5 separate regions of the Homo sapiens genome follow, and regions 1, 2, 3 and 5 are each linked to region 4. The links are contacts of gene promoters, found by promoter capture Hi-C in blood cells and fetal thymus (Javierre and others, 2016). All regions are on one chromosome and are shown on one strand. The core of a region is centred on a gene start or on the middle of the fragment in contact, and the rest is flanking DNA. Distances in the headings are between cores, read along the strand shown.

Region 1 (4,855 bases), core at 1,461-3,960, 220 kb before region 4:
AACACTTTCGATGTAGCTTTGTTTTTGTGACTTTGTTCATCAAAACTGTTTCTTGGCCAGGCACAGTGGCTCATGCCTGTAATCCCAGCACTCTGGAAGGCCGAGGCAGGTGGATTACCTAAGGTCAGGAGTTTGAGACCGGCCTGGCCAACATGGTGAAACCCCGTCTGTACTAAAAATACAAAAAAATTAGCCAGGCGTGGCGGCGGGCGCCTGTAATCCCAGCTACTCGGGAGGCTGAGGCAGGAGAATCACTTGAACTCGGCAGGCGGAGGTTGCAGCGAGCTGAGATTGTGCCACTGGGTAACAGAGTGAGACTGTCTCAAAAAACAAACCAACAACAACAACAACAACAAAAAATTTCTTGGTTTTTCTTTCTTTCTTCCTTGAGAAAGGGTCTCACCCTACAACCCAGATTGCAGTGCAAGTGGCACAATCACAGCTCACTGCAGCCTTAACCTCCCAGGCTCAAGCAATCTTCTCACCTCAGCCTCCCGAGTAGCTGGGACTACCACATCCAGCTAATCGTTTTATTTTGATTGCAAAGACAGGATCTCACTATGTTGCTCAGGCCAGTCTCAAACTCCTGACCTCAAACAATCCTCCTGCCATAGCCTTCCAAAAAACTGTTTCAATGGAAGTTGTAAAATTGTATTACAGCTATTTCTATAGAGCTGCTCATCTTAGAATGCAAATCAACTCTATGTCAGAGCCAACATGGCCTCCTCAGCTGTATTTTAGTTAATAACAGCCACAAGATTTCCAAGAACTGAGAACTAGGGTACCACAGTTAGCCTCTGCAACACTGCTAAGACAAGTACTATTTGGCTCTTAACCTCTAAGCAATTCACAACCAAGGAGCAGCTGCAAACACATTTCCAGATACTTTACAGACTGGCAGCAAAAGATACAACCCTTTTTCTTTTCTAGGCGTAGGAATCTATAATACAAAAGGGAGAATTGTGTCCTTTTGATTGTAAAGTTAAAAACAAACTTCAAATCACAGTGCTTCAACATCTCCAAAAATGACGCTGCATAAACCCAAGGCAGATTAGGACATCTGTTTTCAAAGCCTGAGTCAATTTTCCATTTCACCAAAAACACTGATTCCTGGACTTAGTAAATTGGTGCAGAGCAGCTCAATGTTCATAACTAGTATTTCCTCCCCTGTACATCCCAGGAGCGGGTTTAGAGACGCTGACTAAAAAAAATGAAGTCACACAAGCCCAAAGTTATTACCATCAGCCAACATTTAATACTAAAGAGGGGAGTTAATCAGAGGAAAGACACACATGCTAATTCAGAAATCCAGACCAAAGCTAGACAGGCTAAAACAGAGTCTGAATACAAAAGCAGTATTAGGGGAAGGCTAAGGAGTTTGCCATGGAGATGTAAGATGGCATTAATGGTTTAAAAAGAATCCTTCTAAAGCAGGGTTTCCAAACTTGCCTGAAGATAAGACATATTTAGGGCATTTGTTTAAAAACAAACACACTTTAAAAAAAGATCCCTGGGCGCTAATCTAAACCAACTAAAATCAGAAGTTTTCCAGGAGAATGATCTGGTAATCTGTATATCCAACAAGCACTTTAAGTGATTCTTGGTGTTAGGGAAGTCTAGAAAACACTATGCTAAAGGAGTATTAGTAATCAACTGTAAAGACACTGTGGTGTCTGAATGGATATTGGCAAGGAAAAGCTGATGAATATGTTGAATAACATGTTAAACATAATATATTGCATGCATTAATCAATGTTCCATCATAAAACACCATTAAAATTACAGCAAAAGGATTTTTTTTTTTTTTTTTTGAGACGGAGTCTCATTCTGTTGCCCAGGCTGGAGTGCAGTGGCGCTATCTCGGCTCACTGCAAGCTCCACCTCTCGGGTTCATGTCATTCTCCTGCCTCAGCCTCCCGAGTAGCTGGTACTACAGGCGCCTGCCACCACGCCCAGCTAATTTTTTTGTATTTTTAGTAGAGACGGGGTTTCACTGTGTTAGCCAGGATGGTCTCCATCTCCTGACCTCGTGATCTGCCTGCCTCAGCCTCCCAAAATGCCGGGATTACAGGCGTGAGATACCGTGCCTGGCCAGGATTTTTTTTTATAAAGACATAAACCAAACAACAAGCAAAAAAACTGGGAAAGGAGACAGCAGAGAGAGAGATGTCAACAAAGTTTTGGAAGGTAAAAAGCAAATGCACTAGTGATAAATAACTTCACAAAAGTAAAAAAAAAAAACAAAACACTGCAGTGGGAAGAAGCAAGCAGATTCCCACCACAGATGAACTTCTGAATCAAAACGTCTCAGAAATTAGAGGCACCTGGTACCTCGGGAAGATGGGGTGATAGTGTAGAAGGGGCTAAACAGGAGGACTGGTTGAAAGTCTGGGACTGGCACGGTGGCTCACACCTGTAATCCCAGAAGTTTGGGAGGCCGAGGCAGGTGGATTACTTGAGCTCAAGGGTTCGAGACCAGCCTGGTCAACCTGGTGAAACCCCGTCTCTACTAAACATACAAAAAAATTAGCCGATTGTGGTGGCTCATGCCTGTAGTTGCCAGCGACTTGGGAGGCTGAGGCAGCAGAATTGCTTGAACCTGGGAGGTGGAGGTTGCAGTGAGCTGAGATTGCACCACTGCACTCCAGCCCGGGCAACAGAGCAAGACTCCATCTTAAAAAAAAAAAGAAAAGTCTGTATAACAAATGGATTCCTCCATCCCTCCCCATGCTGCCAGGCAAATTAGAAAAGTTAAACCAGGCCAGGCTCGGTGGCTCATGCCTGTAATCCCAGCACTTTGGGAGGCCAAGGTGGGTGGAACACCTGAGGTCAGGAGTTCAAGACCAGCCTGGCCAAGATGGTAAAACCCCACCTCTATTAAAAATACAAACATTAGCCGGGCACGGTGGCAGGCACTTGTAATCCCAGCTACTTGGGAGGCTGAGGCAGGAGAATCCTTTGAAGCCGGGTGGCAGAGGTTGCAGTGGGCCAAGATAGCGCCACTGCACTCCAGCCTAGAGATGACAGAGTGAGACTCCGTCTCAAAAAAAAAAAAAAAAAAAAAGAAAAGCTGAACCAAAGAGTCCAAAGGAACTAGTCACAGCTAAGGGCAGTGACGGAAATAAGGGTATCAAGTGAAAAGCCTAATGAGTCAACGGTGAGACCTCTCCTACCTCCCCAGCTCCTTTCTCTCACTTGGCTCCAAAAACATTGGCAGCCAGACTTACACTCAAACACCTGCCACTGGCTTATACTCTCTAGGCAGGGGACTGGAGGAGTCCTTTTACCAGCCTGCCAGGGTGCCTGTAATCCCAATACCCTATAGTAGGGTCCACCACTTGATGAGCTTCTTAGTGTCACATTCTTAAAAATAAACAGAAGCCAAGGCTGGGCGCAGTGGATCACGCCTGTAATCCCAGCACTTTGGGAGGCTGAAGGGGGCGGATCACGAGGTCAGGAGATCGAGACCATCCTGGCTAACACAGTGAAACCCCGTCTCTACTAAAAATACAAAAAATTAGCCGGGCGTGGTGGCGGGCGCCTGTGGTCCCAGCTACTTGGGAGGCTGAGGCAGGAGAATGGCGTGAACCTGGGAGGCGGAGCTTGCAGTGAGCCGAGATCGCACCACTGCATTCCAGCCTGGGCGACAGAGCGAGACTCCGTCTCAAATAAATAAATAAATAAATAAATAAATAAATAAATAAATAAAATAAAATAAACAGAAGCCAGACACAGTGGCATGAGCCTGTAGTCCCAGCTACTTGGAGGTAGGAGGATAACTTAAGCCCAGGAGTTTGAATCCAGCCTGAGCCCCACAGCAAAACCCCATCTCTTAAAAAATAAATGGCCGGGCACGGTGGCTCACGTCTGTAATCCCAGCACTTTGGGAGGCCAAGGCGGGCGGATCATGAGGTCAGGAGTTTCAGACCAGCCTGACCAAGGTGGTGAAACCCCATCTCTACTAAAAATACAAAAATTAGCCACACTGATGGCAAGCGCCTATAATCCCAGCTACTCGGGAGGCTGAGGCAGGAGAATCGCTTGAACCCGGGAGGCGGAGGTTTGCAGTGAGCCGAGATTGTGCCACTGCACTCCAGCCTGGACGACAGAGTGAGATTCTGTCTCAAAAAAATAATAATAAATAAATAAATAAGGGCAGGTGCAGTGGCTCACACCTGTAATCCCAACACTTTAGGAGGCCGAGGCAGGCAGATCACCTGAGGTCAGGAGTTCAAGACCAGCCTGGCCAACATGGTAAAACCCTGTCTCTACAAAACTACAAAAATTAGCCGGGCATGATGGCGGGTGCCTGTAATCCCAGCTATTTGGGAGGCTGAGACAGGAGAATTGCTTGAACTGGGGAGGCAGATGTTGCAGTGAGCCAAGATCGTGCCATTGTACTCCAGCCTGGGCAACAGAGCCAGACTCCATCTCAAATAAATAAACAAATAAATAATAAAAATTGAATAAGCAGCTAAGAATTATCAAACAACTGAAGAAAATCTCTAACACGAAAGATAAGAATCAAAGTAACAAAACAGAATTCCTGACAATGTCCAAAAATACATGTAAAATTCAGATAATAAAAAGAGCCCTTGGAGACAGGGGTGGTGGCTCACGTCTGTAATCCCAGCACGTTGGGAGGCCAAGGCGGGTGGATCACAAGGTCAAGAGCTTTTTTTTTTTCTTTTGAGACGGAGTCTCCCTCTGTTGCCAGGCTGGAGTGCAGTGGCACCATCTTGACTCACTGCAACCTCCGCCTCCCGGGTTCAAGCAATTCTCCTACCTCAGCCTCCTGAGTAGCTGGGATTACAGGCGCACGTCACCACACCTGGCTAATTTTTTTTTTTTTTTT
Region 2 (5,177 bases), core at 354-2,853, 180 kb before region 4:
ATGGTGAGTCCTGTATTTTTGCCTTGAAAACTTGGGTAGGTGGCTGGGCAGTGGCTCACAGCTGTAATCCCAGCACTTTGGAAGACTGAGGTGGGTGGATCACTTGAGGTCAGGAGTTTGAGACCAACCTGACCAACATGGTGAAACCCCATCTCTACTAAAAATACAAAAATTAGCCGGGTGTGGTGGCCTCTGCCTATAATCCCAGCTACTCAGGAGGCTGAGGCAGGAGGATCACTTGAACCTGGGAGGCAGAGGTTGCAGTGAGCCAAGATTACGCCACTGCACTCCAGCTTGGGCAACAGAGAGAGAAAACCTGGGTGGATGAGAGGATCATTTTTCTGAGATGCAGAAGACTGAGGCAGAAACAGATGTGAATGGGGATTATCAAGGGCCCAGGTATAGCTATTTGAGTGTATGATGTCTCCTGGAACTCAGGCTATCATTTAAGCCTAACGCTAGGCTCTCTGCACCCTATAATCTTAGTAGGATTGGGCCAGGCGCAGTGGCTCAAGCCTGTAATCCCAGCACTTTGGGAGGCCGAGGTGGGCAGATCACGAGGTCAGGAGATCCAGACCATCCTGGCTAACACAGTGAAACCTCATCTCTACTAAAAATATTAAAAAAAAAATTAGCCCGGCATGGTGGTGGGCACCTGTAGTCCCAGCTACTTGGGAGGCTGAGGCAGGAGAATGGCATGAACCTGGGAGGCAGAGCTTGCAGTGAGCAGACATCACGCCACTGCACTCCAGCCTGGGCAACAGAGCAAGACTCCGTCTCAAAAAAAACAAAACAAAACAAAACTTAGTAGAACTGGTAAATATTGGTTGTGTGAACAGTACATGCTGTCTTCAGGGGACAGACCTGGGTTAGGGGACCAGTGCCCTCACTAGTAATTATTCTGGGACTGCTGTGCCTCAATCTTCTACCTTAGCATTAGAATTAAATGTGATCTCATATTTATGCCACCTGGAACATGTATGAACGAAAACATCCCATCCCCTCTTCTGAGTTCCAGGCATTATGTGACATGTCTTGTGAGGTTGGCATCTTTTCCTCTCATCCACATTTTCTTTTTTGGCAGAGTCTTGCTCTGTTGCCCAGGCTGGAGAGCCACTGCGCCTTGCAACCTCCGCCTCCTGAGTTCAAGCTACTCTCCTGACTCAGCCTCCCAAGTAGCTGGGATTACAGGCATGCACCACCACACCTGGCTAATTTTTGTATTTTTAGTAGAGACAGGGTTTCACCATGTTGGCCAGGCTGGTCTCGAACTCCCGCCCTCAGGTGATCTGCCCGCCTCGGCCTCCCAAAGTGCTGGGATTACAAGCATGAGCCACTGTACCCCGCCACCCACATTTTCAAAGTCACTCCAGAACAGCCCTGCTCCTGACAGCACTGGGCGGCCATCCCCTCTCCCCTCCCTCAGCACTTCCACAGCCTCAAAGAAAACAGAATGGAGAACAACAGGCAGGTTGATTCATAGACTTTATCGGCTTCTTCTCCACCCAGCGGTTTCTGCAATGACAACCGCGCCTGTACAATACACATGGTTCACTCTGTTAAAGCTGCAGGGCAACGGGAGGGGGCTGGGGGTCCCTGGGCAGGCATCAAGGCTAGGGGTAAGCAGCAGCCAAGACTGGGCCAGTGGGTCCCAGTGTCCGACCCAGAGGGTGGTGGCAGCTGGAGTTCCAAGGCTGTTGGAAGGGGTCAGGAGGAAGGCTGGGAAGCCAGGGGCTGCAGGGAGAGGAGAGTGCATCAGCAGTAGCAGGGAGGGGGCAGGGAGCAGAAGGGGGCCCATGGGACACTGTCAGGGCAAGAGGGCATGGGACACAGCACCTCCTATGTCCATAGAGGATTTTTGCTGCAGGAACAAGACAGATCACTGTATAAAAGGGTCTGTACAACATTACCTATGATACAATGTTCACATATGATACAAGGCTCTTTCCCTCTTTGAGTTTTAAAAAATAAATGTACAATTCCAGAGCTTTGGGTAAAAAATATATACACCCTCATAGCAGGAGCAGCAGCTGCTTTTGCTACGGCTGTTGCTGTCTCTTCAAAAGGGAAAGAGGTGGTGCCAGAAAGAAGGGTGAGTCTGTGCCAGGAAACCTCACCCAGTAGCTGCCAGGAGCCCCTGCACCCCTCAGGCCTTGAGGCTGGTGATGGGAGAGGGAGGGGAGTAAAGGTAATAAAGGCCTTGCCAGAGTCCAGTGGCGCCTTTACAGTCTCTGCCATCCCCCTCCCCCACTTTGGGGCTGCCTGCCCCAGGTATAGGGATCCACCCCACCCCAGCTCTATGGGGAGGACAAAGGGAGAGTCAAAGAGAGAGGGACAGAGACCATGTTGTTGGTGTCAGACACATGAGCCAGAAGGGGGATGTCAACTCCCTCCTTAGCAGTTAGATATCCCAAAAAGCAGGAGTGTGGGCAGCAGACAACCCTAGCTCCTGATACTGCTCTACCCGAGCCCACTGCAAGGCAGGGGGAGGGTCCTCTAGGCAGCTGAGGCCTGTGTTTCCCTGAGCATCTTTTACCCTCTCATCAGAGCCCATCCCTGGACCTTCCAGAGGCCTGAGTGGGGGACTTGCAAGGGCTGATGGGTAACCCCTCCCACCTGCTGCTACTCCCTGCCCCAAAAAGCAGCTTGGCTCACAAGCCTGGGCATGCAGGGCAGCACGAGGAGCTGAGCAGGGAGTGTGGGGGTGGAGAAAGCACCCCGCACCATCCAGGGGCAGAGTAGACAAGGGTAGCACCAAACAGAAGGACCCCTCCCCAGCACACACAACATCCACCCTCAATTACCAGATGCACTCCTGCTCCCTAAAAGAAGACACACACACACACACACACACACACACACACACACACACACACACACACACACACACGGCAACATAATATTCCTGGGGGTCCCAGCCCTGACCAGGAAGAAGCTGGACAGGTGGTGGAGAAGAAGGCTGCCAATCCCTCCCACAATCCCACTCTGCAAGACAGAAGGGTGAGCAGCATTCTTTCCTGCTGCAAGAGGAAGTTGGAAGCTCCATCCCCAGAACAGATCTCGATGGGAGGACATAGAGGAAGGAGCTTTCTATCCCCTTTCTCAGAGGGGACAGGAACCAGCAAAGTGTAGTTTTGGCTTGAAGGAGCAATGGGGAGGGGACTTCAGCAGGATGAACAGACTTATGGGTCCAGGGGTAAATCCATCGACCTCTTTCCCGTGGAGCAGGAAGTTGCTCCACGGGAAAGATGTCAGATGTTGGTTGAGACATCGTGCAAAGTGCTTGAGTGCCAGGTGCCCAAGGATCTGGCGGGTCTGACTGGAGCCTCCACTCTCACTGACTGTTTGCCTCCAGCTTGTAGGAGAGCTCGAAGAGGAGGTTCTGGTTGTCGATGACCTGAAACTGGCGCACATAGGCCTTGGTCTGCAGGTGATTGGGGGATGCCTCCATGTCCAGGCCTAGTGGGTAAAGAGGGAGAGGCAGTCAGGTTCCCAGCTTCCCTTCTTCCTCTACACACACACCGGGCAGAAGATCAGGCTGTGGACTGAGACAGATGTTGGGCAGGAAGGCCTCTGCAGAGGCAAGGAGAGAATGGGGAACCAGCAAGTGTATGGAAATACACATCTGGACAGGGAGTTCTCCCCTGAACCCTCCCGTTCAGTCAAAGCTCTATCTGTACTGCTCTCAGTACCCTGGGTACTCACAAAGGGGCCGGCTCCGGTATTTGCGGATTGTCCTCACTTTTTCGGCCACTGAATGCTGGGAGATGACAAGGAATGAGCCTTGAAAGGGGCACAGAAAGAGGCTCCCCCTCTTATGCTCCCCCTCCGCCATTCTCCCACTCTGCTTTACTCCCTCCAGTCTCCAATTCTGGAGGGTCTCTGAAGGACCAAAGGAGTGGGTGTAACAGAGTGCCATGTGAGGGGGAGGTGAAGTTGCCCCCAAGCTGCCTGTCAGCTCTGCCACCTGTGGGTGGGTTGCCACAGTGATGCCACCAGGGAGACAGTCAAGAGTCTGTTAGGCAAGCTGGGCACTTGGAGGAAGGCTGCTATTTTTGGGAGGTGATGAGAGAGGGAGAGGATGCAAGCCCCCCACTTGTGGGACTAGGGGTTTGCAGTGCCACTCACTCACCAGCTTCTCGATGTTCACCAAACCATCTACAAGGGTCTTACTCCCTTCGTGCAGGAAAGTCAGGTCTAGGGGATGTGGAGAGAATCCAATGTGAGGAAAGGATAAGAGAGGAGTTCGAAAGGGGCCACTGCACCCGAGGACCCCGCTCTTCCCCAGAACCCACTCCGTCTGTGGTGGGGGGCTCCTCTCCAGGTGGGTACTCAGGGCTGAGTCGAGAGGGAGCTGGAAGTCAGAAGCAGGGCATAGGAGAAGGGAAGCATGGGTGGAAGCGGCACAGCTTGGGAGTAACTCTCTCACCTTTGAGGATCAGAGGCACGAAGGGAATCACAGGGGGCTTCATTTTGGAGATCACTTCTCGGTAGCTTTTGTGGTTCCTGCAGGGGTCCTAGTATTCCACAGGAGAGAGATCAAGGGACAGACTGGCCAATGCATCCCAAAGATGTCCTCAGCTTCCTCCCTCACCCCCTGCCTTGTATACATTCCTGATCAGATAGGGGTGCTGGGGGCTTTCTAATGGTGTGGTGGGGAGGGACCTGACTACTCCCCCTTTCCTTCAAGAAAAACAGGGGCGCAATCCTTCCAACCTCACCCTCCAGCATGGTAAGGAGGGTGGGGGGTCCCATACACTAAACACCTTGAAAGGAAAGCTTGAGGAAGGGGGTTTATGGGAACAGAGGGTTTCTGGGCTCTCAGTCCAAGAGCAGAAGAAAGAGCCAAACCCACTCACCGTCAGGTTCTCAAATTTGCGAAACAAGTTCTTGAATTTCCCTGGCAGCTTCTGCAGAGTTTGAAGGAAGGAGAAGGGATATCAGAGTGGAGCTCCTTGGGTTACATGGGAGCCTCGGATTAATTCTCCCTGTTGGAGGGCAAAAGGGCCTGCATGGCTTGTAGGGGGCTGGGAAGCTGGTGGGTGGGGAAATGAAGTCAGGCCTTGGCTAAGTCTAGAGGCTTGAAACAGCCCAGAGGAATTCATTATTCTGGGGAAGGCCAGGTCTGTCTTATGCAGGTGCTTTGTATAAAGATGCCCCCACTGAGTGTGGATGAA
Region 3 (4,795 bases), core at 2,072-4,571, 140 kb before region 4:
AAATACAAAAATTAGCCGATCGCGATAGTACGCGCCTGTAATCCTGGCTACTCAGGAGGCTGAAGCAGGAGAATCACTTCAACCCAAGAGGTGGAGGTTGCAGTGAGCCGAGAACATGCCATTGCACTCCAGCCTAGGCAACACAGCGAGACTCTGTCTTAAATAAATAAATAAAAAGAAAAGCAAAGAGAATTCTTTCTAAAAGATATCAAGAGTCTACACTCTATTTTTTTTTTCCTTTTTTTCTTTTTTTTTTTGGAGACAGGGTCTCACTATGTTCCCCAGGCTGGTCTTGAACTCCTGGCCTCAAGCAATCCTCCTGCCTCAGCCTCCCAAAGTGCCGGGATTCCAGGTGTAAGCCACCGTAAGCCACCATACCCAGCCTGGTCTTATGTTCTAAAATGTCCTCACCGGGGTTTCCGGATTCTTCGAGGTTTGATGTCATCAGGATTATGAGCTGAGCGAATGTCATAACCATAAAGAGCAATGAGCTCCTGTCGGGACTTTGGGGCCTGCTCATCTTCCCGGAACTTGTCATGCTCCCAGCGACCCTCATCCTTCCATAGCTTTCGCTGACGCCCCTTGGGTCTGGATAAAATGAAGGAAAAGTGTCTTGGGTCAGCAGAATTCTCCAAGTAGAGATGTTCTTGAACAAAATGGGTCAGGGAGGCAGGGGGACAATAGGAACTTTACGTAGTCTCCTCATCATCCCAAAGAGATTATAAAAAACAGGCCTCCCCAAAGCAAGCGTGAATCACAGAACCTCAGGGCCTGCTGGGCTCAAATATAACAGACACAGAAATGAGAAAAAGACTTCATTTCATGCCATTCAGTACCTTTGAAACATCTCCTTTCTCCTAAAAGGCAACCTATGCAAGTATTTCACTTCTCAGACGCCTTACACCTCAGACTAAGAAAAGCAAAAGTATAATAATTAAGAGAAGATGAGTTCTGGAAACAAACTGTCCTAGGTCTGTATCTTAGCTGCCTCACCAAGAGTTACCAAATATTCTAAGCCTACTTTCCTCATTTGTACGATAAGGATAATCATAATACTTATCTTAAAATGCTGTAATAAATGAAATACAGGCAAATCGAAGTACCTGGCCTACATGTGTAAAATACATGTTAGACAGCAGCAGCAGCAAGTGGCTTTTACCTGACTTCCTCCTCCTGAGTTTGCCCTCGAAGATCATGCTCAAAGAAGAGCCCTTTCCGAGGTATGTATGCTGGATTCTTCCGATCTTCATCATCATCCAAATGCTTAGGGCCCTTTTTACCCACTTTGTTCTCCACAGGCTCTGTGCTCTCCTAGAGGACAGATAAAGGGATCCTTACTCTTCCAAGCCTCAAGAATCTCTATTCCAGCCTCTAAAATGGAGGACTGTGGAATGTACTAACCTGTCCGTCCCCACTTTGCCTCTCTCCAGTCACAGTGCTTTTGGTGTCAGGCTTTTCTTCTCCCTTCTCTTCTTTTGTTGAAGAATTAACAGCATCATTAGCTTCTGATTTCAGCTCCACTTTGGAGTTTTCCTCTTCACTGTATTCACCTTCTTCACCCTGAAAAAAGTTTCCCTGTCAGCGATGCATATAAGATCTGAACGGTGCATTTTAATTCCCACCCCTGCCCCCAACCCCAAAACAAAGTCTCTGTCACCCAGGCTGGAATACAGTGGCACAATCTCAGCTCACTGTAACCTCTGCCTCCAGGGGTCAAGCAATTCTCCTGCCTCAGCCTCCTAAATAGCTGGGATTATAGGCGCCCACTACCGCGCCTGGCTAATTTTTGTATGTTTAGTAGAGACCAGGTTTCACCATGTTGGCCAGGCTGGTCTTGAACTCCTGATTTCGTGATCTGCCTGCCTTGGCCGCCCAAAGTGCTGGGTTTATAGGCGTGAGCCACCGTGCCTGGCTGCATTTCAATTTTCTACTCTTTAGGAATACATTTATCAATAAATTTTTAGTACAACATAGAACTGAAAAGCAAACAAATCAATATTCTTACCCATATTTCTAGAAAATAAAGATCCTATTTTGGCCTGGCACAGTGGCTCACGCCTGTAATCACATTTTGGGAGGCCAATGCAGGCAGATCACCTGCGGTCAGGAGTGTGAGACCAACCTGGCCAGCATGGCAAAACCCCATCTCTACTAGAAATATAAGAATTAGCCGCACTTGGTGGTAGGCACCTGTAATCCCAGCTGCTCGGGAGGCTGAGGCAGGAAAATCGTTTGAACCAGGGAGGCAGAGCTTGCAGTGAGCAGAGACTGCGCCACTGCACTTCAGCCTGGGCGACAGAGCAAGGCTCTGTCGCAAAAAATAGTAATAATAAAAAAAAGACACTATTTTAAAAATATCACATTAAAAAAAATACACACATACATACATATATATCCACATAGGTATTCCTGGAACATATGCAAGAATTATTAAAAGTGGCAGGCTGGGCGCAGTGGCTTACACCTGTAATCCCAGCACTTTGGGAGGCCGAGGCAGGCGTATCACTTGAGGTCAGGAGTTCGAGACCAGCCTGGCCAACATGGTGAAACTCTGTCTCTACTAAAAATACAAAAATTAGCCGGGAGGCGGAGGTTGCAGTGAGCCAAGTTTGTGCCACTGCACTCCAGCCTGGGTGACAAAAGCAAAACTCCATCTCGAAAAAGCAAAACAAAAAAACAAAAAAACAGCGGCAGCCTCTAATGGGCCCAGAGGATAAGAATGGAAGGGAGACTTACTATACGATACCTAACATATAAGAGGAGCTTAATCTTCCTTGATAATCTCTCTCTCCATGAATTATCTTTTTTTTTTTTTCTGTTTTGAGACAGGGTCTTGCTCTGTTGCCCAGGAGTGCAGTGGCACAATCATGGCTTACTGCAATCTCAATCTCCTGGGCTCAAGTGATCCTCCCACCTCAGCCTCCCAAGTAGCTGCGACTACAGGCACATGCCACCACACCTGGCTGATTTTTTTTTATTTTTAGTAGAGACGAGGTCTCGCTATGTTGCCTAGGCAGTTCTCAAACTGCTGAGCTCAAGCAATCCTCCTCCCTTGGCCTCCCAAAGGGCTGGGATTACAGGCATGAACACTGTACCTGGCCCATGAATTGTCTCTTAAACATGCAGTGCCTAATAACTATACTTTGACGTAAGTTGTGAACTCTCCCATCTCAAAATGGCTTAGAGCAGAAATTCCCAACCTTTTTGATTATGCGGACCCCTTTTTAGGATCTAAAAATTTTCATGGATCCCCATGAGATATTCACTGAGAAAACATACAATGACAAACAACTGCTAGGCTGGATGTAGTGGTTCACGCCTGTAATCCCAACACTCTGGGAGGCCGAGGTAGGTGGATCACTTGAGGTCCGGAGTTTGAGACCAGCCTGGCCAACATGGTGAAACCCTGTCTCTACTAAAAATACAAAAATCAGCCAGACATGGTGGCATGAATTTGTAATCCCAGCTATTTGGGAGGCTGAGGCAAGAGAATTGCTTAAACCCAGGAGGTGGAGGTTGCAGTGAGCCAAGATTGCACCACTGATACTAGTCTGGGCAAAAGAGTGAGACCCTGTCAAAAAAAAAAAAAAAAAAAAAAAAATTCGCCAGGAATGGTGGTGTGCGCCTATAGTCCCAGCAACTTGGGAGGCTGAGGTGTGAGATCATTTCAGCCCAGGAGGTAGAGGTTGCAGTGAGCCATAATTGTGCCACTGCGCTCCAGTCTTAGCAACAGAGAGAGATCCTGTCTCAAAAAAAAAAAAAAAAAAACACACAATGAACTGATGCGTGCGTGCCTGTAGTCCCAGCTACTCAGGAGGCTGAGGCGGGAGAATCACTTTAACCTGGGAGGCAGAGGTTGCAGTGAACCGAGATCGCACCACTGCACTCCAACCTGGACAACAGAGACTGTCTCAAAAACAAACAAAAAACAACAAACTGTTATACATTCAATAACACTTTAAGTTTACATTTTATTAATTTACATATATTCAAAAATAGTAGTACATAAGGGGGGAGATGTATATTTTAGTCTATAGATAATGAGAACTGAATGAGTAGACATGCAACTCTTTTTTGAGACAGGGTCTCACTCTGTCGCCCAGGCTGGAGTGCAGTGGTGTGATCTCAACTGACTATAGCCTTGACTTCCTGGGCTCAAGTAATCCTCCCACCTCAGCCCCCACAAGTAGCTGGGACTACAGATGTACACCACTATGCCCAACTAATTTTTGTATTTTTTGTAGAGACAGAGTTTCACCACATTACCCAGGCTGGTCTGAAACTTCTGAGCTCAAGCGAACCTCCTGCCTCAGCCTCCCAAAGTGCTAGGATTACAGGCATGAGCCACTGCGCCCAACCAGATGTGCAAACTCTTGATAATGACTCCATGATTTCCCAATGCACTTATCCTCAAGCTGGAAAATGGTAGCTTTTTTTAATGCCTATGAGTACTGGTTTTCTGCAGCAGAAAATTCCTGCAGCCAGAACATATCCAGAATCACATAATTACAAAAATTTGACCTAAAAAACCTTAAAGGACAACTTGTACAACCATCACATTTCAGAAATGAAAAAAATTAGTCCAAGTGCTCTCTCTCTCTTTTTACTATCTTCTTCCCTCTTTTACCACATCAAGATTGGGTAACACTGTTCATGACACAGAAAGTGCTGGGTCTACACACAAAGGATCATTAGGCCATTAGAAAGGGCCAGGAAATGGACGTGTGGCTAGTTCTAGGTAGGAAAAGGCAGCAGCTAAGGCTCATGATAAGGGAACTGGCTTTAGAATAGGGTT
Region 4 (5,371 bases), core at 491-2,990:
GTAATAAATACTTGGTATTTACCTATCTACCTCCCAGTCCAGGGGATGGGAGGACAGGAGCTTTTTCTCACTGCTACAGGCAGGAGAATGAAACTCAGAAATGCAGGGAAGGACACAGAGGCCTGGGGCTCCGTTCTGCTCTTCCCTGTCTTTAAATATGAGGCTTAAATAGACATAAATATTAAATAGAGATAAATACATGGGATGGGGAGGGCTTGGCTCAGGGCTGGGCAAGGTGGCGTAGAACGCGGTACGACACCTCCAGGAAGCTCTGCAGATGGGAGGCAACCAGGACCCCTCCTGCCCGGCGCTGGAAAGCAGAGGCGAAGGCCGGCATGGCACCCTGGGTGGGCTGCAGGGCAGGGGCCATTCCCAGTTCTTCCATCTGTGGGGGAAAGCTGTGATCAGTGGTTGGGCCCTTCTGAGTGGGCGTTATTACAAATGAGGAAATGCTGGGGGTGACAGCATGGACAGGGCCCATACACAGGCCTGGCTGTGGTGCCCAGAATGCCAGCACGACCTTGGCCACCCTGCCCAACAAGGCTCACCTGCTGCCAGATGGTGGTGGCAAAGTCGGCGACGTCCAGCTGCAGTGTGTCCAAGGTGGGACCCAACTCGGGGGAGATCCCTTCCAGGGCCTGCAGGAGCCCCTGGTAGAGGAAAAGGCCGCTATGGAGTTGGCTCAAGCAGCCTGCCTGTGAGACAGAGCGGAAGAGTTAGGGGGTGCTGCCTGAGATACGTCAGGCCCCCAGCTTGGAACCTGGAGACATGGGGGAGCCCATGGGTGTTCCTCCTCTCCTTCCCCCTCCTCATTAGCCTTATCCTTTCCTGACACTCACCAGCTGCAGGGCCTGGCTGGGGCAGCTGCTCAGGGGAGCCCAGGGGATGCCCAGAGAGTGTCCGAGCAGCACCAGCTCCTCGGGGTGGCACAGCTTGTAGGTGGCACACTGGGGATGGAAGGATGCTGAGTGAGACTCGCCATGGCCGGGTCGCCGCTCCTTCCCGGGTCCTCCCCGACTCTCTGGTCTTTCCCCTCCCTCCATGTCCTGCCAGGCTGTTCAGTTCCTCTCTGCCCTGCACCCCCACTCTCTGATCTCACAGGGGCCCTTGCCCTTTCTCCTGAATGTAATGCCTCCACTCCCATCCCAGCCAGCCCTCCCGAGCACTGTCCCCACCAAGGTCCTCCTCCCCAAGTCCCTTCCCAGCCTTCCCCAGCTCCACTGCTCCTAATATTCTCCCACGTCCCTTCCAGAGGATGTTGGCCCTGCAGTTCCATCCCCCTTAGCTCTCCCCACCGGGCTTCCCTCCACAGCCCTCTCACCCACCTCACTCACCAGCTTCTCCTGGAGCGCTGCGCCATCGCCCTGGATCTTCCTCACTTGCTCTAAGCACTTGAGCAGGAAGCTCTGGGGCAGGGAGCTGGCAGGGCCCAGGGGGGTGGCTTCCTGCACTGTCCAGAGTGCACTGTGCCACAGCAGCAGCTGCAGGGCTGGGGACAGAGCGGGCTCAGGAGACATGCTGTTCCCTACCACCTGAGGCCCTCTCGGGGACACTGGGTGCCTTTAATCCCCATTCCCAGAACGGGGATCCCCAGCCCCTCTGTCACACCAGCCTCCCTCCCATGCCAGGGCAGGCGGCTCTCCCATCCTGGGCCAAGACACTCACCCATCAGCTTCATGGGGCTCTGGGTGGCAGGTCCAGCCATGGGTCTGGGTGGGGCTGGGCTGCAGGCTCCGGGCTGTTTTGGGGCCCAGCTCTAGGGGGGCCTTTATACATAACCCCATGGAGGCCTGGGAGGAAATTACCTGGGGCCACGACTAAGGCTTAGTAATAACTTCCCAGGATTTATGCAAATTTGGTGTCCAAGACAATGCAGGGGGGTTGGAACAAAAAGCTGTTTGCGAAAGTTTTGTGAAATTGTGGAATCTCTGATCCTCCTTTGACGTCGCCTTGCCCCCCTCAAACTCCCTTCCTCCCGCTGCCCCACCCAGGCCTGAATGGCCCCAGAGTGTTTGAACAGAACAGCTGAACAAAGGCTGAGCCGCTGATAGACGCCTGGAAGCGGCAGCAGCCTGTGGGGAAGTGGCAGCTGAGTCGGGGTCTCCCTCTCTGCTCTGGCAGACTTGCGGGGGCAGTGTCCTTTGCCCCTCTCCTTTGGGATTCTCAAGCCTGTCCCCCAAGCCCCCAAATTCTAAGAGAGAAAAAAAGAAGCTGGTTGCTCCCATTCCTACCCCCAAACTCTCCGGAGGCTGCCTGTCTGGGAGACCTCCTGAGCCCCTACCTGAGATAAGGACATTGGGTCTTGGCTGCTGTGCCCACCCCACACTTGGATAGGCACCATCGAAAGTTCCAGGCTGTCCTGTCCCAAGTTGATTAGCTGGGAACTCCCCCAGAAACCCCCCCGCCCCCCATGACTCATTCGGCTAAAGCCCCTAGAATCCCGGTAGAGCCAGAGGAAACCGGATGTCTGTCCCGAATGAGGCAAGACCCTTCGAGGCGATTGGCTCACCTGACCTTCACCTCCTCGTGCACGACCCTGACAGTAGGGTCCCCAAGGGCTTTGGAACTGCGGGATTGGGACACGTGACTTCCCTGGTCATTCACCTTGAAGTGGACACGGGCTGGGGTGAGAGAGGGGAAACTGCCCCATCTTCTCATCTTAGAACCATGCAGCGTTAATGCTGGAAGGGACCTTGGAGTCGATTCCAACCCCGTGAACTGGGCCAGGGAAGGAAGTGCCTTGCCCAAGGTCATGGTAAGTGACAGAATTACAGCCTGGGCCTCTGGCTCAGACCTGAACGTTTTCTTTTTCTTTTCCAGATGGAGTCTTGCTCTGTCGCCCAGGCTGGAGTGCAGTGGCGCGATCTCGGCTCACTGCAAACTCTGCCTCTCGGGTTCACGCCATTCTCCTGCCTCAGCCTCCCGAGTAGCTGGAACTACAGGTGCCCGCCACCATGCCCGGCCAATTTTTTGTATTTTTAGTAGAGACGGGGTTTCACCGTGTTAGCCAGGATGGTCACGATCTCCTGACCTCGTGATCCACCCGCCTCGGCCTCCCAAAGTGCTGGGATTACAGGCGTGAGCCACCGTGCCCGGCCTAGGCCTGAACGTTTTCTACAGGCCACAAGGCCTGCCTGGGGCAGTCTGACTGACCACACCCAAGACTGTCACCTTCTGTCCTAATTTACCCCAGCGTGCCAAGAAACAGACATCTCTGGATGAGAAGTGGATGTGGTGACTGGATGGGGCCATCTCTGGTGCTTGGGGGCCCCCTGGTGGTCACCAATGGCAGGGACGTCTGATCTCACACACTGATCTCACACACTGTTATCTGGTCCGCGGTCCTGCAGCTCCGCCTTAGCTCTGTGGCTCAGCACCTTGCACTGATGTGGCCCAGCTCTGTACCCAGCTCCCTGGGAGTAGAGGGTGGGTTTTTGTTGTTGTTTTTTTGAGATGGAGTTTCGCTCATTGCTCAGGCTGGAGTGCAATGGCACGATCTCGGCTCACTACAACCTCCGCCTCCCTGGTTCTAGTGATTTTCCTGCCTCAGCCTCCCAAGTAGGTGGGATTACAGGCATGCACCACCATGCTCATCTAATTTTGTATTTTTAGTAGAGGTGGGATTTCACCATGTTGGTGGTCAGGCTGGTCTCGAACTCCTGACCTCAGGTGATCCACCCGCCTCGGCCTCCCAAAGTGCTGGGATTATAGGCATGAGCCACTGCACCTGGCCTTGAGGGTGGGTTTTTAACAGGACCATGGAAGGCAGGAGCTCCACATTCTTAAACATGTTGCCTGGCAACTATTGCATTGCACACCTCTTATATGTCAGGCACTTTTTTTTTTTTTTTTTAAGACAGAGTTTGGCTCTTGTTGCCCAGGCTGGAGTGGGTGGAGTGCAATGGCACGATCTCGGCTCACTGCAACCGCCGCCTCCTGGGTTCAAGTGATTCTCCTGCCTCAGCCTCCTGAGTAGCTGGGATTACAGGCATGCTCCACCACTGCCCCCACAGCCGGCTAATTTTGTATTTTTAGAAGAGATGGGCTTTCTCCATGTTGGCCAGGCTGGTCTCACACTCCTGACCTTAGGTGACCCGCCCGCCTCGGCTTCCCAAAGTGCTGGGATTACAGGCATGAGCCACTGCGCCTAGCCATATCAGGCACCTCTTATTACACTTTTGTCAATTTTTTTGCGGAGGGGAAACAGGGTCTCAGTCTGTCCCCCAGCCTAGAGGGCTGTGGTACAATCACAGCTCACTGCAGTCTTCACCTCCCAGGCTCAAGCGATCCTCCCACTTTAGCCTCCCGCGTAGCTGGGACCACAGGCACGGACCACCATGCTCCGCCAATTTTTGTAATTTTTTTTTTTTTGCAGAGAGGGCATTTCATCATGTTGCCCAGGCTGATCTCAAACTCCTGGGCTTGTGTCCGAAACTGGTGAGTGCTTGGTCTCACTGACTTCAAGAAGGAAGCCGCGGACCCTCGCAGTGAGTGTTACAGCTCTTAAGGTGGTGCATCTGGAGTTTGTTCCTTCTGATGTTCAGATGTGTTCGCAGTTTCTTCCTTCTGGTGGGTTCGTGGTCTCGCTGGCTGAGGAGTGAAGCTGCAGACCTTCGCGGTGAGTGTTATAGCTCTTAAGGCAGCGCGGCCGGAGTTGTTCATTCCTCCCGGTGGGCTCGTGGTCTTAGTGGCTTCAGGAGTGAAGCTGCAGACCTTCGTGGTGAGTGTTACAGCTCATAAAAGCAGTGTGGACCCAAAAAGCGAGCAGTAGCAAGATTTATCGCAAACAGCAAAAGAACAAAGCTGCCATATTGTGGATGGGGACCTGTGCCCGTTGCCACTGCTGGCTCGGGCAGCCTGCTTTTATTCTCTTATCTGGCCCCACCCACATCCTGCTGATTGGTAGAGCCGAGTGGTCTGTTTTGACAGGGCGCTGATTGGTGCGTTTACAATCCCTGAGCTAGACACAAAGGTTCTCCACGTCCCCACTAGATTAACTAGATACAGAGTGTCGACACAAACATTCTCCAAGGCCCCACCAGAGTAGCTGTCAAGCCTCTGAGCCCAAGCCAAGCCATCGCATCCCCTGTAACTTGCACATATACGCCCAGATGGCCTGAAGTAACTGAAGAATCACAAAAGAAGTGAATATGCCCTGCCCCAACTTAACTGATGACATTCCACCACAAAAGAGGTGTAAATGGCGGGTCCTTGCCTTAATTGATGACATTACCTTGTGAAAGTCCTTTTCCTGGCTCATCCTGGCTCAAAAAGCACCCCCACTGAGCACCTTGCGACCCCCCACTCCTGCCCGCCAGAGAACAAACCCCCTTTGACTGTAATTTTCCTTTACCTACCCAAATCCTATAAA
Region 5 (5,056 bases), core at 1,924-4,423, 250 kb before region 4:
GTGTTTTACTCTGCAAAGAAAAAATTCTTGAAACAAACTCTATGAACCAATAATGCTAGTTTTTGGGTTTTGGGGGGGCGGGTTTTGAGGCAGGGTCTTGCTCTGCTGCCTAGGCTGGAGTGCAGTGGCGTGATCTCAGCTCTCTGCAGCCTCTGCCTCCTGGGCTCAAGTGATCCTCCCATCCTAGCCTCCCAAGTAGCTGGGACCACAGGCACACGCTACCACGCCTGGCTAGGTTTCTTAAATTTATTTTTATTTATTTATTTATTTATTTTTTGAGACAGAGTCTCGCTCAGTCACCCATGCTGGAGTGCAGTGGTGCAATCTTAGCTCACTGCAACCACAATCTCCCGGGTTCAAGCGATTCTCCCGTCTCAGCCTCTCGAGTAGCTGGGATTACAGGCACCCGCCATCATGCCTGGCTAATTTTTGTATTTTAGTAGAGAGATGGGGTTTCACCATGTTGGCCAGGCTGGTCTTGAACTCCTGACCTCAGGTGATCTGCCTGTCTCAGCCTCCCAAATTGCTAGGATTACAGGCGTGAGCCACTGCACCCGGCCTAGTTTTTTTATTTTTTGTAGTAATGGGGTTTCACCATGTTGCCCAGGCTGGTCTTGAACTCCGTCTCAAGCGATCCTCCTGCCTCAGCCTCCCAAAGCACTAGGATTACAAGTGTGAGCCTGTGTCCCTGACCCCCACTGTACTTTTCAAATGTACATTTTACAGGTGAGAAAAGAGAATCGGTGAGAAAAGAGAATCAGTGATCTGTCCAATGTCACACAACAAATCGAGGCAATACTCAAATGATCTCTGACTAAAATATCTCAATTTTTTTCTGGTTTATCACTCTTAAGAATTGCTGCTCTAGCCAGGTACAATTGCTCACATCTGTAATCCCAGGGCTTCGGGAGGCCAAGGTGGGAGGATGGCTTGAGCCCAAGAGTTTGAGTCCAGCCTGGGCAACACAGACCTCATCTTAAAAAATAAAAATAAAAAAAAATTTTAATGAGCCAGACATGGTGGCAACACTCCTGTAGTCCTAGCTACCACAGAGAAAGAATGGAAAAGTGGGAAGCAAGAAAGCCTGCAGACATTTAAAAGTGCTCAGCTCAACCCACGGAAATTGCATTTTTCTCTTCTTCTATTCCTGGATGAGGTCAGAAAGATATGAGCTTTGCTCAGACAAAGAGTCTTTTGTAAAATCCCTAAGTTAAAAAAAAAGTCAAACCTGAACTTTATAGAATCAAGGGCCACCTTAGCACTACCTCATTATGGCTAAAGCTAGGGAGATATGGGATCAGGAATGCAGTAGGCCACTGTTTGGCTGCCCTATGTTAGATGGCCAGCTGCTAGAGTACAAATCTGTATGTACTGAACAAAGAAGCTGCACACAGGTTAATGGACTTTTAATGCCTTGCTACTTAATGATATAACCTTTACCCTTTTTTTGGGACAACGTCTTGCTGTGTTGCCCAGGCTGAAGTGCAGTGGCACTAATACAGCTCACTGCAGCCTCCACCTCCCAGGCTCAAGTGGTCTTCCCACCTCAGCCACTCAAGTAGCTGGGACTACAGGCATGCACCGCCATGCCAGGCTAATTTTTTAAAATTATTTTTTGTAGAGACAGGGTTTTGCCATGTTGCCCAGGCTGGTCTCGAACTCCTGGGCTTAAATGATCTGCTGGCCTCAACCTTCCAAAGTGCTGGGATTAAGGCGTGAGCCATCATGCCCAGACTCCATGACATAACTCCTTAATCAATGTTCTATACCTGTAGAAACTGACTTTAAAATAAAAGCTAAGGGCTGGGCGCAGTGGCTCACTTGAGGTCAGGAGTTTGAGACCAGCCTGGCCAACACGGCGAAAACCCGTTTCTACTAAAAATACAAAAATTAGCCAGATATGGTGGCACATGCCTGTAATTCCAGCTAGTCAGGAGGCTGAGACACAACAATCACTTGAACCTGGGAGGAAGAGGTTGCAATGAGCAGAGATTGCACCACTGCACTCCAGCCTGGGCGAAAGAGCAAGGCTCTGTCTCAAAACACAAACAAACAAATAAATAAATAAAGGCCAAGAAGCTGTTTGTGGAGGGTATGTCTCAAAGTCTAATGATACAACGATATGGGAGCCAAAATTCCCATGTCCAATAAGGCCCCAGAGAGCTGTCACGGTCTCCCTCACTCTAAAATTTCAGTTATGCTAATTATAACGAGATTACACAACCTCTTCTTTTTCCAGGGTTCCTAAATTCCCTCCTCACCCAGCTTAGGCTCCATTATTGCAATCACTCCCTCACATACACCCTTCCCTTCCTGCCCCACTCTCCCTTAGAGTCGCACATGCCTAAAACATGCTAACGCTGGTTAAACACAGCTCTACTCTTTTTCTGTACCTGCAAATCACAACTGAACACATGAGACTAATTAATCTCACATGAAATGTATGGCCCATAATCTCAAGTGGGCCCTTCGCGTGGTTGCCTATCTGAGCACACTTCCCTAGTCCACCCACACTCCCACGCTCCAGATGACCATTTCATGCCTCTTCTCTCTCCTCAACTCTCCTTCTCCTTCCCTCGCCTCAATCACAGCTGATGCTCTTGCTTTCCATTTCACTGAGAAAACAGAAGCAAATTAGAATAAACTTTCCACATGCTTCTACCACTACACCCACCTACCCACTTGCTTCTAAGCCTATATGCTCTGCCTCCCCTCTTGTTACTATGGAAGAACTATGTTCCTATCTAAGGCCAACCCTTTTTATCTATCGATCACATTCTCTTTTCTCTGGCCTCCTCCAGGTCATTATTCAGGCAATCTGTTCCCTCTCTTCTGATTCAATTTTTTCCCTCTCTCCTAAGTTTCATGCTACTCATTCCATCAGCATACAAATAGGTCTCCCATCTTGGGATGGGAAAAAAACAACTCTCAACCCCACATCTTCGTCCAACAATCACTTCACTTATCTTCACCCCTCTCTCCTGGACTTTACAGCGAACTCTTTAAGAGATTTCTATATTGCTATCTCCAATTTCTCTCCTCCTATTCCTGCATTCTTGAACCCACTCCAATTAAGCTTTCACTTTCACCCTCCACCACTCCACTGAAACTACTCAAAAGGGTCCCATGATACTAAGACCAATGCCAGTTCTTGGTCTTTAACTTACCTGACCCATCTGCAGCACTGGGCACAGCTGACCACTTACTCTACCTTGGAGTTTTTCCATCACATTCTTGGTTTTTCTCCTTCCATCCTCACTAGAAGCTTTTCTGTTTCCTCTGCTGGGTATTCTTCATCTCTTTTGCCTCTAATGTAGGAGGGCGAGGGCTCAGCCCTCATTTTTTTTTTTTTTTTTTTTGAGATGGACTGTCACTCTGTCGCCCAGGCTGGAGTGCAGTGGCGTGATCTCGGCTCACTGCAACCTCTGCCTCCTGAGTTCAAGCGATTCTCCTGCCTCAGCCTCCTAGGCCTCTTCTTATCTATATTCACTCCTTAGGTGACTTCATCCAGCATGTGGTTTTCAACACCATTCAAATGTATCTCTCTAGCCGAAACCTCTCCCCTCAACTTTGGAGTCTGATAGCCAATTACCAATTCATTGTCTCTTCTTGATTACCTAACAGGCATCTCAAACTTGTCTCAAACTGAACACCTATCTTCCCACAAATTCACAGTAGTCCTAACCATCTGGCCGTTTACTGCAACAGCCCAGTAACTGGTCTCCTTTTGTCACCTTTGTCCTCCTGCGGTCTGTTCTCAACATAGGAGTTAATGATCTTTTTAAAAGGTGAATCAAATCATACTACTTCTCTGTTTAAAACCCTCCAGTGGCTTCCCATCTCACACAGTTAAATCCAAGGTCTTTGCAAAATCCTGCAGTGCGCTCTCCCCTGCAGCTCCAGCTTTCCAACCTCCAAGTCCTACCACTCTTCCCTCCCCTCACTCTTTGTAGTCTTGCCACAATGGCCCCCTTGCTGTCCCCAAAATGTTTCAAGAATACTTCTGCCTTATGGCCTCTGCATTTGTTGTTCCCACTGCCTGCAACAGCTGTTCTCCTAGATAACTACTAAGCTTACTCGTCACTTTCTTAAGGTCTTTGTCAAATTTTCACCGTATCAGTAAGGACTGTCCTGACTCTCTCCCCACTCCTCCAATTAAAGATATCATCATCCCGACCTCCGCCCCAGTATATCTTATTCCTCTCCTCTGCTTTGTAATTCTCTAAAGCATACTGCATACTATGTATTTATATATTTTACTAGTTTGACTGTCAAATTTTTTTGTCTTTTCTATTTATTGCTATTTCCCTACCAACAGACCTGACACATAAAAAGGTACTCAATAAACCCACTGAGTGAATAAACGAATTACTGTCTTCAAGGAGTGCTCTGGGGAAAGATAAAATCAACTCACAGCATGATAGGGAAAAAGGTGCTTCCAAGCACTTACCTGCTCCCCGACTGGGAGGGTCTCGGGCTGGGGGAGGTGGCCTATTACTCAGTAAAGATGGGGAGGCCGAGGTGGGTGGAGGAGGTGCTAGGCCTCTGACAGGCCCTGGTGTCTTCCTATGCAAAGAATTGTGTCTCTGTGGCAGCTCAGGGGCTGACTCATTAGTGGGGCTAGAGGGTCCATTGGGGACCCCAGGAGGCTGGCGGTAAGGCGGAGGAGGAGGAGCCAGAGACTGGCCACTTGGTCCTGTTCTGATATTCACAGGGGAAGGAGGTGGTTTGACTGGGGGTGGAGCAGGAGGTCCCTCTCGACCAGGGTGAAGCCTTTGTCCAGGCGTCGGTGGCAAGGGTTTCTCTCTGTTGTAGGCGGGGGCTTTGCTGCTGTGCATAGGCAGAGGTGTGGGGGGTGCGTTGGCACGCCGCCCTGGGGGTGGTGGGGGAGGGGCAGAGGAGCTGTGCTTCATGCCCGTACTGCTGGTGGTATTAGGCCGAGAGAGGTCCGGTAAAGAGGGTCTCTGCATCCGGGGCAGTTCTGGGAGTGAGGCCCGGCTGCTGTCTGTATCATCCTGAGGACGCCCGCTGGCGGCAGATACTGGAGGCCTTGGGG

Evidence for each region. The method cuts DNA at HindIII sites, captures the fragments that hold promoters and counts their contacts. A CHiCAGO score of 5 or more calls a contact.
Region 1: a fragment that was not itself captured here is called in contact with the fragment with the promoter of CSF3 in region 4 in 1 of 17 cell types (naive CD8 T cells); the score reaches 5.7 in naive CD8 T cells.
Region 2: a fragment that was not itself captured here is called in contact with the fragment with the promoter of CSF3 in region 4 in 1 of 17 cell types (neutrophils); the score reaches 5.3 in neutrophils.
Region 3: a fragment that was not itself captured here is called in contact with the fragment with the promoter of CSF3 in region 4 in 8 of 17 cell types (M1 macrophages, M2 macrophages, erythroblasts and 5 more); the score reaches 6.3 in M1 macrophages.
Region 5: a fragment that was not itself captured here is called in contact with the fragment with the promoter of CSF3 in region 4 in 1 of 17 cell types (naive B cells); the score reaches 5.4 in naive B cells.

Annotation. Positions count from the first base shown.
Region 1 is chr17:40,237,901-40,242,755 of GRCh38, reverse strand. The region is part of intron 1 of WIPF2 (WAS/WASL interacting protein family member 2); the gene reads right to left. Among named protein-coding and RNA genes, the nearest start is that of WIPF2, 21 kb to the right of the region's middle. The HindIII fragment of the contact is 5,946 bases long and covers 1-4,855 here.
Region 2 is chr17:40,191,946-40,197,122 of GRCh38, reverse strand. It overlaps RAPGEFL1 (Rap guanine nucleotide exchange factor like 1), which reads right to left. Exons shown (of 15, transcript NM_016339.6): 11 at 4,860-4,910; 12 at 4,430-4,517; 13 at 4,133-4,197; 14 at 3,706-3,760; 15 at 1,473-3,459. The coding sequence ends at 3,335. It overlaps MIR6867 (microRNA 6867), which reads right to left and starts at 3,526; the gene lies at 3,460-3,526. RefSeq lists enhancers at 2,506-2,555, 2,180-2,680. The HindIII fragment of the contact is 6,356 bases long and covers 1-4,781 here.
Region 3 is chr17:40,158,518-40,163,312 of GRCh38, reverse strand. CASC3 (CASC3 exon junction complex subunit) reads right to left here. Exons shown (of 14, transcript NM_007359.5): 4 at 1,402-1,560; 5 at 1,160-1,311; 6 at 412-588. MIR6866 (microRNA 6866) reads right to left here and starts at 1,380; the gene lies at 1,312-1,380. The HindIII fragment of the contact is 7,918 bases long and covers 1-4,795 here.
Region 4 is chr17:40,011,809-40,017,179 of GRCh38, reverse strand. CSF3 (colony stimulating factor 3) reads right to left here and starts at 1,740. Exons shown (of 5, transcript NM_172219.3): 1 at 1,666-1,740; 2 at 1,335-1,489; 3 at 840-947; 4 at 549-695; 5 at 1-385. The coding sequence starts at 1,705. The coding sequence ends at 221. PSMD3-AS1 (PSMD3 antisense RNA 1) reads left to right here and starts at 2,539. Exons shown (of 3, transcript NR_198981.1): 1 at 2,539-2,626; 2 at 2,821-2,942; 3 at 4,376-5,371. RefSeq lists enhancers at 1,331-1,830, 4,935-5,371. The HindIII fragment of the contact is 16,036 bases long and covers 1-5,371 here.
Region 5 is chr17:40,264,541-40,269,596 of GRCh38, reverse strand. It overlaps WIPF2 (WAS/WASL interacting protein family member 2), which reads right to left. Exons shown (of 8, transcript NM_133264.5): 5 at 4,451-5,056. Among named protein-coding and RNA genes, the nearest start is that of CDC6, 21 kb to the left of the region's middle. The HindIII fragment of the contact is 189 bases long and covers 3,079-3,267 here.